2 separate regions of the Homo sapiens genome follow, and region 1 is linked to region 2. Evidence: promoter capture Hi-C in human tissues and cell types (Jung and others, 2019). All regions are on one chromosome and are shown on one strand. The core of a region is centred on a gene start or on the middle of the fragment in contact, and the rest is flanking DNA. Distances in the headings are between cores, read along the strand shown.

Region 1 (5,031 bases), core at 526-3,025, 190 kb before region 2:
CACATAGAGTAACTCATGCTCAAAATGAAAAAAGGTAAATTCCCTTATCTATTGAGATCGATCAACTGTTTTCTGTATCTCAGAGAATCAACCATCAACTGCACACAAATAAAAAAGCTCTGGGCACCGTATCAAGCCAAGAACAGCCCAATCTCCTTTCTGGGCAAACGTTCCAAGGTAAATATAATAAGAAATGCTTTCTTTAAATAATTTGATAAGTAACAAAAGGATTTCCCTGGAAGGCATTAAAAACAAGTTTGATTGTCATATCACTGTGGGTTTTTTTAATTATATTTTAAGTTCTAGGGTACATGTGCAAAACGTGCAGGTTTGTTACATAGGTATACATGTGCCATGTGGGTTTGCTGCACCCATCAATTCATCATTTACATTAGGTATTTCTCCTAATGCTATATCTCCCCCAGGCCCCCACCCACTGACAGGCCCCGGTGTGTGAGGTTCCCCACCCTGTGTCCATGTGTTCTCATTGTTCAACTCCCACCTATGAGTGAGAACATGCAATGTTTGGTTTTCTGTCCTTGTGATAGTTTGCTTAGAATGATGGTTTCCAGCTTTATCCATGTCCCTACAAAGGACATGAACTCATCCTTTTTTATGACTGCATAGTATTCCATGGTGTATATGTGCCACATTTTCTCAATCCAGTCTATCATTGATGGATATTTGGGTTGGTTCCAAGTCTTTGCTATTGTGAATAGTGCCCCAATAAACATACGTGTGCATGTGTCCTTATAGTAGCATGATTTATAATCCTTTGGGTATATACCCAGTAATGGGATGGCTGGGTCAAATGGTATTTCTAGTTCTAGATCCTTGAGGAACCGCCACATTGTCTTCCACAATGGTTGAACCAGTTTACACTCCCACCAACAGTGTAAAACCCTTCCTATTTCTCCACATCCTCTCCAGCATCTGTTGTTTCCTGACTTTTTAATGATGGCCATTCTAACTGGTGTGAGATAGTATCTCTTTGTGGTTTTGATATGCATTTCTCTGATGACAAGTGATGAGCATTTTTTCATATGTCTGTTGGCTGCATAAATGTCTTCTTTTGAGAAGTGTCTGTTCATATCCTTTGCCCACTTTTTGATGGGGTTGTTTGTTTATTTCTTGTAAATTTGTTTAAGTTCTTTGTAGATTCTGAATATTAGCCCTTTTTCAGATGGGTAGACTGCAAAGATTTTCTCCCATTCTGTAGGCTGCCTGTTCACTCTGATGGTAGTTTCTTTTGCTGTGCAGAAGCTCTTTAGTTTAATTAGATCCCATTTGTCTATTTTGGCTTTTGTTGCCATTGCTTTTGGTATTTTAGTCATGAAGTCCTTGCCCATGTCTATGTCCTGAATGGTATTGCCTAGGTTTTCTTTTAGGATTTTTACAGTGTTAGGTCTTACATTTAAGTATTTAATGCTTCTAGTTAATTTTTATATACGGTGTAAAGAAGGGATCCAGTTTCAGCTTTCTACATATGGCTAGCCAGTTTTCCCAGCACCATTTATTAGATAGGGAACCCTTTCAATATTGCTTGTTTTTTTCAGGTTTGCCAAAGTTCAGATGGTTGTAGATGTGTGATGTTATTTCTGAGGCCTCTGTTCTGTTCCATTGATCTATATATCTGTTTTGGTACCAGTACCATGCTGTTTTGGTTACTCTAGCTTGTAGTATAGTTTGAAGTCAGGTAGCGGGATGCCTCCAGCTTTGTTCTTTTAAGTAGTTTTTTCCAATTACGTAAAGAAAGTCAGGTAGCTTGATGGCGATGACACTGAATCTATAAATTACCTTGGAAAGTATGGACGTTTTCATAATATTGATTCTTCCTATCCATGAACATGGAATGTTCTTCCATTTGTTTGTGTCCTCTTTTATTTCATTGAGCAGTGGTTTGTAGTTCTCCTTGAAGAGTTCCTTCACGTCCCTTGTAAGTTGGATTCCCAGGTATTTTATTCTTTTTGTAGTAATTGTGAATGGGAGTTCACTAATGATTTGGCTCTCTGTTTGTCTATTATTGGTGTATAGGAATGCTTGTGATTTTTGCACATTGATTTTGTATCCTGAAACTTTGCTGAAGTTGCTTATTAGCTTAAGGAGATTTTGGGCTGAGACAATGGGGTTTTCTAAATATACAATCATGTCATCTGCAAGCAGGGACAATTTGACTTCCTCCTTTCCTAATTGAATACCCTTTATTTCTTTCTCTTACCTGATTTCCCTAGCCAGAACTTCCAACACTATGTTGAATAGGAGTGGTGAGAGAGGGCATCCCTGTCTTGTGCCGGTTTTCAAAGGGAATGCTTCCAGCTTTTGTCCATTCAGTATGATATTGGCTGTGGGTTTGTCATAAATAGCTCTTATTATTTTGAGATACGTTCCACCAATACCTATTTTATTGAGAGTTTTTAGCATGAAGCGCTGTTGAATTTTATCGAAGGCCTTTTCTGCATCTATTGAGATGATCATGTGGTTTTTGTCATTGGTTCTGTTTATGTGATGGATTACATTTACAGATTTGTGTATGTTGAACCAGCCTTGCATCCCAGGGATGTAGCCAATGTGATCGTGGTGGATAAGCTTTTTGATGTGCTGCTGGATTCGGTTTGCCAGTATTTTATTGAGGATTTTTGCATCAATGTTCATCAGGGATATGGCCTAAAATTATCTTTTTTTGTTGTGTCTCTACCAGGCTTTGGTATCAGGATGATTCTAGCCTCATAAAATGAGTTAGGGAGGATTCCCCTTTTTTCTATTGATTGAAATAGTTTCAGAAGGAATGGTACCAGCTCCTCTTTGTACCTCTGGTAGAATTCAGCTGTGAATCTGTCTGGTCCTGGACTTTTTTTGGTTGGTAGGCTATTAATTATTGCCTCAATTTCAGAGCCTGTTATTGGTCAATCCAGAGATTCAATTTCTTCCTGGTTTAGTCTTGAGAGAGTGTATGTGTCCAGGAATTTATCCATTTCTTCTAGATTTTCTAGTTTATTTGCATAGAGGTGTTTATAGTATTCTCTGATGGTAGTTTGCATTTCTGTGGGATCAGTGGTGATATCCCCTTTATCATTTTTTATTGCATCTATTTGATTCTTCTCTCTTTTCTTTTTTATTGGTCTTGCTAGCAGTCTATCTATTTTGTTGATCTTTTTAAAAAAACAGCTCCTGGATTCATTGATTTTTTGAAGGGTTTTTTGTGTCTCTCTCTCCTTCAGTTCTGCTCTGATCTTTGTTATTTCTTGCCTTCTGCTAGCTGTTGAATTTGTTTGCTCTTGCTTCTCTAGTTCTTTTAATTGTGATGTTAGAGTGTCGATTTTAGATCTTTCCTGCTTTCTCTTGTATGCATTTAGTGCTATAAATTTCCCTCTACACACTGCTCTAAATGTATCCCAGAGATTCTGGTGTGTTGCATCTTTTTTCTCATTGGTTTCAAAGAACATCTTTATTTCTGCCTTCATTTCGTTACTTACCCAGTAGTCATTCAGGAGCATGTTGTTCAGTTTCCATGTAGTTGTGTGGTTTTGAGTGGGTTTATTAATCCTGAGTTCTAATTTGATTGCACTGTAGTCAGGGAGAGTTTGTTGTGGTTTCTGTTCTTTTACATTTGCTGAGGAGTGCTTTACTTCCAACTAAGTGGTCAATTTTAGAATAAGTGCAATGTGGTGCTGAGAAGAATGTATATTCTGTTGATTTGGGGTGGAGAGTTCTGTAGATGTCTATTAGGTCTACTTGGTGCAGAGCTGAGTTCAAGCCCTCGATATCCTTGTTAACCTTCTGTCTCATTGATCTGTCTAATACTGACAGTGGGGTTTTAAAGTCTCCCATTATTATTGTGTGGGAGTCTAAGTCTCTTTGTAGATCTCTAAGGACTTGCTTTATGAATCTGGTTGCTCCTGTATTGGGTGCATATATATTTAGGATAGTTAGCTCTTCTTGGTGAATTGATCCCCTTACCATTATGTGGTGGCCTTCTTTGTCTCTTTTGATCTTTGTTGGTTTAAAGTCTGTTTTATCAGAGACTAGGATTGTAACCCCTGCTTTTTTTTGCTTTCCATTTGTTTGGTAGATCTTCCTCCATCCCTTTATTTTGAGCCTATGTGCGTCTTTGCACATGAAATGGGTCTCCTGAATACAGCACACCCATGGGTCTTGACTCTTTATCCAATTTGCCAGTCCGTGACTTTTAACTGGGGCATTTAGCCCATTTTCACTTAAGATTAATATTGTTATGTGTGAATTTGATCCTGTCATTTTGATGTTAGCTCATTATTTTGCCTGTTAATTGATGCAGTTTCTTCATAGCATCAATGGTCTTTACAATTTGGCATGTTTTTGCAGTGGCTAGTACCAGTTATTCCTTTCCATGCTTAGTGCTTCCTTCAGGAGCTCTTCTTATAAGGCAGGCCTGGTAGTGACAAAATCTCTCAGCATTTGCTTGTCTATAAAGGATTTTATTTCTCCTTCACTTATGAAGCTTAGTTTGGCTGGATATGAGATTCTGGGTTGAAAATTCTTTTCTTTAAGAATGTTGAATATTGGCCCCCACTCTCTTCTGGCTTGTAGGGTTTCTGCCAACAGATCCGCTGTTAGTCTGATGGGCTTCCCTTTGTGGGTAACCCGACCTTTCTCTCTGGCTGCCCTTAACATTTTTTCTTTCATTTCAACCTTGGTGAATCTGACAATTATGTGTCTTGGGGTTACTCTTCTTGAGGAGTATCTTTGTGGTGTTCTCTGTATTTCCTGAATTTGAATGTTGGCCTGCCTTGCTAGGTTGAGGAAGTTTTCCAGGATAATATCCTGAAGAGTGTTTTCCAACTTGATTCCATTCTTCCCGTCACTTTCAGGTACACCAATCAAACGTAGATTTGGTCTTTTCTTATAGTCTTATATTTCCTGGAGGCTTTGTTCATTTCCTTTTACTCTTTTTTTCTCTAAACTTCTCTTCTTGCTTTATTTCATTAATTTGATCTTCAATCACTGATATCCTTTCTTCCACTTGATCGAATAGGCTATTGAATCTTGTGCATG
Region 2 (5,722 bases), core at 673-3,172:
CCAAGATTGTGCCACTGTACTCCAGCCTGGGCAACAAAGCAAGACTCCATCTCAAAAAAATAAAAATAAAAAGGCAAGCTACAGAATAGAAGAAAATACTTGCAAAACATATCTGATAAAAACAAACAAAAAAAACTTGTATCCAGAATAAAGAATTGTTTACAACTTGATAAAAGTAACACAATTTTTTAAATGAGTAGAAAAAACTTGTAAAGATGATTTACACAGAAGGTAGAAAGAATGGCAAATAACACATAAAAGATGCTGAAAATAATTAGTCATTAATGAAACAAAAATCAAAAGCATAATACCCATCCTCTAGAATGGCTAAATTAAAAACAGACAATACCATCAAATGTTGGTGATGGATGCGGAGTAACAAATTCTCACTCATGACTGCTGGCAATGCAAATGTTTGGCAGTTTCTCAAGAGAAATGAAGTTACTCAAGAGAAATGAAAACATATGTCTACACCAAGATTTGCAACTGAATGTTAATAATACTACTAACTACTAATACTACTACTACAGGCTCACGCCTGTAATCCCAACACTTTGGGAGGCCCAGGCGGGTGGATTACTTGAGGTCAGGAGTTCGAAACCAGCCTGGCCAACATGGTGAAACCCCGTCTCTACTAAAAATACAAAAAAATATATAATAAAATAAAATAAATTAGCCAGGCATGGTGGCAGGTGCCTATAATCCCAGCTACTTGGGAGGCTGAGGCAGGAGAATTGCTTGAACCCAGGAGGCAAAGGTTGCAGTGAGCCAAGATCATACCACTGCACTCCAGCTTGGGCGACAGAGCAAGACCCCATCTCAAAAAAATAAATAAATAAAACAATAATAATACTAACAGCCAAAAGCTGGAAACCACTCTCATGTCCATCAATGAGTAAATGGATAAACAAATTGTGGTATATCTATACAATGGAATACTCTTTCAGCAATACAAAAGAATGTATTACTGATATACACAACACAAATAGATTTCAAAAGCATTATGCTAGCAGAAAGAAGTCAAACACAAAAAGCATGTTGTGTGATTTGATTTACATTAGAAAGGTAAATTTATGTTTATGGAAAGCAGTTTGGGCCAGGTGTGGTGGTTCATGCCTGTAATCCCAGCACTTTGGGAGGCCAAGGACAGCAGATCACTTGAGGTCAGGAGTTCAAGATCAGCCTGGCCACCATGGTGAAATCTTGTCTCTACTAAAAATACAAAAATTAGCTGGGCATGGTGGTGCACACCTGTTAATTCCAGCTATTCAGGAGTCTGAGGCACAAGAATCACTTGAACCCGGGAGGTGGAGGTTGCAGTGAGCCAAGATTGCATCACTGCACTCCAGCCTGGGAGACAGAGCGAGGCTGTCTCCAAAAAAAAAAAAGCAAGCAGTTCTATCAGGAGGCCATTAGGTTAAGCTGGTTCTGTTAGAGTAGGTAGTCAGGCAGACATGAGCAGGGCAGGAGAGGGCCCCCAGCTCAGGAATGTCAGGCGACCATCAGGTGATGATCAGGCGGTTGTTACACTGTTTCTCTAAAATAATAATAATGGGTTGCAGCCAGTACCAGGGAAAGACAGTCTCCCAAAAGACAGGAAACACCGGAAGCTGGTGATCAGCAACTTCCTGATAAGATCTCCGAAGCTGGGCAAGTGGGCTCAAGCATGCGCACTAAGAAGCAAAATGACAGTTTAACCAGTATGTGACCTTCCTCTAGGAACACCTGACTGATAAGGGAAAAATGTCTCAAGAAAGCATGCGCACAACTTCAGTAAACAAATGCACATGTGGCTCCTCCCAAGTGCTGACAGGCCACTGCACAGCAGACAGCCCACCCCAAGGAAAAAAATCCAAGGAGGAGAAATGGAAACCCCGGAACCATGCCGATGTATAAAACCCCAAGTCAAGGGCTGAACAGGGCACTTGGATCTCTCAAATGGTGCAGTGACTCGGATACCTTCCCTAGTGGTAAGACACCTCTACGCCTTGCCTTCTTCGGCTGGAGGCGTTCAACCCTCGTACGTGGTTTCGTTCTCCTCTTTCACTCTCCTGCTTACTAACCTACCCCTGGAACGATTCCTCTCAACCACAGTGGCTCTGCTCCCCCTGGCTGCTCTCTCTGCTCACCCCGAAGGATGGCTTGCAGGGGTGGGAAGGACCTTGGAGTCTGCACTAAGTAGACCTGAGACACTAATGGCCCCCCCAGACAGGAGGCTGATGAGAGCGGTAGGGCTAAAACCTACAACCATGTAGTATCTGGGGTTTCCTCTGCTTTTTCAACTAAAATCAGCTCTTTCCCAAAAACCCACCACCACCTATTTTCCTTTCTCTGTATGTATTCCAAAATGACCTCGCACACCCATTGGACCAACTGCCTTGGGGGTAAGTCTGTCTTTTCTCTGTTCTTACTTTGCATGCCCTGCAACTTTCTTCTCTGCCTTAAACACACATTCCCTATTTGTTATTCATGCACCCGCAGCTCTTGCTGTGTTAGCCTGGCAACCAAGAGATGGACTCCCTTACGGATGTCCCTTGATATTTATACTTGTTACCCTACCAGCTCGGATGACCTCCAACCCTTTCCCTGTCTGTTGGCTCACTGCCGGGATAGACACTAATCAGAACCTTAGCTCTGTCAGCTCCTTATGACTTACCATATGCTTTTCATCCCTGTTATGCTCCAGGGCCATGTTTCTCCCTGGCTTTTGAATGGTTTGCTTGCTTGCATAGGACCTCACTCTGTAGCCCTTAAGGACCCCACCCACTCGCTTTTTTTCTGAGTTAGCACCCCTTTGTGGGGAAGGAAAATTCTCTGCCGTTTGCAGGGTCTTATCCCAAACACCAAGTCCTCCAGAGGTTCCTCCTTTATATCAAGAGGGCAAATAAACGTTGCCCTCTCAAATCCAAGGGCTGCTGTTTCTGCAAACATATGAAGGCTTTCCATGAGTATTCCTCTTGCTTCCTCCCGCTTTCTCCTGTAGCAGAGGGATTGTTCTACCTCGTTAAGCATTTGTTCTGCATGTTACCCTGGGAGGATGAAGAATCCCAAATACAAATTTTCCTCCATTCCTCTAATCACCTCCAGGCCCTTCTCAATATGTATCAGGACCTTCAAAGTTATATTTGAAGGGAGAGAAGTCCAGCCCCCTTGCAGCAATTGGCAGAAAAACAGGCTTCTCGTCTTCTTAAAGAACATGGGAAATGAGAATCTGAGAAGAGATAATCATTCTGTTGCTAGAATGCTCTGAACAAGGGTCACTATAAGGTCATGGAGACAAGGATATAGGACAGCCCAAGGAGGCAGATGCAAGAGACCAAAGTACCCATAGAACAGAGATGAAGACTAGTTCCAGGCTACAAACACAAAACAGATTACCACTGCAACACAGATGAAGGCTGGTCCAGAAATGGGATGGGATCAGGGTAGGGGTACCCAGTAAACACTGGGTTCATTCCAGAACCCCTTGGATGAGTGGGAGGGCACCCTGTTCACTGTAGTCTGCCATAGGCACAGGATTAAGAGAACAAGGGGAGATGCCCTCTTCTCGCCTCTGTTCTTTCTTTACAAACGGGTAATTGTGCCTCAATAAAACAAGATGGGACCAAGGTTAGGGGTACCTGGTAAGCACTGGTTCATTCTGGAACCCCTAGAATGAATGGGGGACACTGCCATACGCAAAGGAAAAATGGATGAATGGGGTAATGCCCTACCCACTCTGGTCTGCTGTAAGTTCAGGAAAAAGACAGTAGGGAAATTGGAGGGGTTGCCTTCTTTTTCTCTTCTCTCCTCTGTTCTCTCTGTGGACAGGTAATCAAGTCTCTGTACCACAGGACACACTACTAGGATACATCCTCAAGAACTGGGAAAAGTTTGACTCCCAAACCCTAAAAAGGAAAAGGCTAATATTTTTCTGTAATACAGCCTGGGTTGAATAAAAGCTCTAGGACCAGGAATCTTGGCCAGAAAATAGAAGCACAAATTTAAATATGATCCATCAACTAGATTTGTTTTGCTACCACCAGGGAAAATGGACAGAAATCCCCTATGTGCTGGCCTTCATGGCCCTAAGAAACAACCCTGACCTTTGTTGGGCTTGTAAAACAGATCCATGGCCATAGTCATGCAGCCCCTTCCCATTGGTTCAGAAGGCCCCTCATCAGGTTTACCCAGAGCTCAAGCCCCATTGCCCCTTCTACCCAATTATATCGAAGTCTCCCAGAAGCCTTCTCCTCCCTACCCAGGGCCATCCTCTGGACACCACCTCCTTAAGTTATGCCCCATTCAGGAGGTTTAGTGGTCCCAGTGGACCCACTGGAGTCCAGACTCCATTCACTGTGCAAGACCTGAGCCAAATTAAAATGGAACTAGGGAAGTTTATGGAGGACCCTGACAAATATATCAAAGTGTTTTATAAACTGGGCTTAACATCTGAACTCACCAGGAGGGACCTCTCAGTCATACTAGGGCAAACTCTGCCTAAGGGAGAATGTGACTCCATTATGGTGGCGGTCCAACAATTTGCAAACACAATGCACATGCCTGACACTGGTGGCTACCCTGTGGGGGCCACCATAGTTCCCCAGGTCAACCCCAATTGGGATTACAATATCCAGGGGAGTACATGAGCAAGGACCCACATGTTCCTCTATCTGATAGAAGGAATGAAAGCTAGCAGAGCAAAGCCTGTGAACTGTAATAAATTGGGCTTGACAGATCAAGGGCCTTATGAAAACCTCACCATTTTCTTAGACAGGCTAGAAGAGGCCCTAGTGAAACACACTAACCTAGACCCAGACCCACTAGAAGGACAACTGTTCATAAAGGATCATTTCCCTAACTCAAACAACACCAGATATTAGGAGGAAACACCAGAAACTAGCACTGGATCCCAGTACCCCTATGCCTGACATCTGCAAAGTAGGTTCCTTGGTCTTTTACAACCAAAACCAGGAGGAGTAGGAAAGGGCTCAAGAAAAGGAGAGGCAAAAGGAAAAGCAACAGCTCCAACTACTGACTGCCCTGCAAACCTGCCAGCCACCTCTGGCAGGCCCCAGGGAGATCCCTTTGCCCAAATGCTACTTCTGTGGGGAGCCAGGCCACACAAGAAGGCAGTGCCCAAACTGATGGGGACACCCACCCCCAGCTCTCCATGCTCCAATTGCCACAATCTTGGCCACTGGGAAACAGGACTACCCTGAAAGCTGAAAGGCCCTCAGGACATCCCAACTGGATGACCTTCAGCTCCTTGAGCTGAAGGGGGCCCTACGCTCCACTTGGCTCCTGGATTAAATAACACTATTGAAGGGACAGAGCCAAGGGCTGCCTTGGATGTGCCCAGTAGGACTGTAAGTTTTCTTTTGGACATGAGGGCTGCCTGCTCAATGCTTACCTCTTTTCCCAGGCAATTATCCTCCTGGGAGGATATGAAGTGCCCGTAACCTGGAGGTTTACTCCTCCTCTGTGCTGTCTCTGGGGGAAAACCGTCTTTTCTCATTCATTTTTAGTGATGCCAGAATACCCTACATACCTTTTGGGTAGAGATATTTTGCTCAGACTAGGGGCTCAGTTAACCTTTCCTCCAGGGCCAACACCCCCTTTTTCAAATGCAATCTTATGCCTCAAGGAAACCATACACAAGGATGAACTGTTCACAGACCTTCCCATTTATCCAGAGGTCTGGGCCTCAGGAATAACAGGAAAGGCCATAATGGCAATGCCT

What was found. The method cuts DNA at HindIII sites, captures the fragments that hold promoters and counts their contacts. A contact is called where the count stands out against the background at its distance.
Region 1: a fragment that was not itself captured here is called in contact with the fragment with the promoter of ERVFRD-1 in region 2 in 1 of the 25 tissues and cell types used here (dorsolateral prefrontal cortex).

The regions. Positions count from the first base shown.
Region 1 is chr6:11,300,212-11,305,242 of GRCh38, reverse strand. All of the region lies in intron 1 of LOC105374925 (a long non-coding RNA gene), which reads right to left. It also overlaps a transcript of NEDD9 not described here. Among named protein-coding and RNA genes, the nearest start is that of NEDD9, 70 kb to the right of the region's middle. The HindIII fragment of the contact is 3,514 bases long and covers 19-3,532 here.
Region 2 is chr6:11,107,925-11,113,646 of GRCh38, reverse strand. ERVFRD-1 (endogenous retrovirus group FRD member 1, envelope) reads left to right here and starts at 1,922. Exons shown (of 2, transcript NM_207582.3): 1 at 1,922-1,970. All of the region lies in intron 1 of SMIM13 (small integral membrane protein 13), which reads right to left. The HindIII fragment of the contact is 12,472 bases long and covers 1-5,722 here.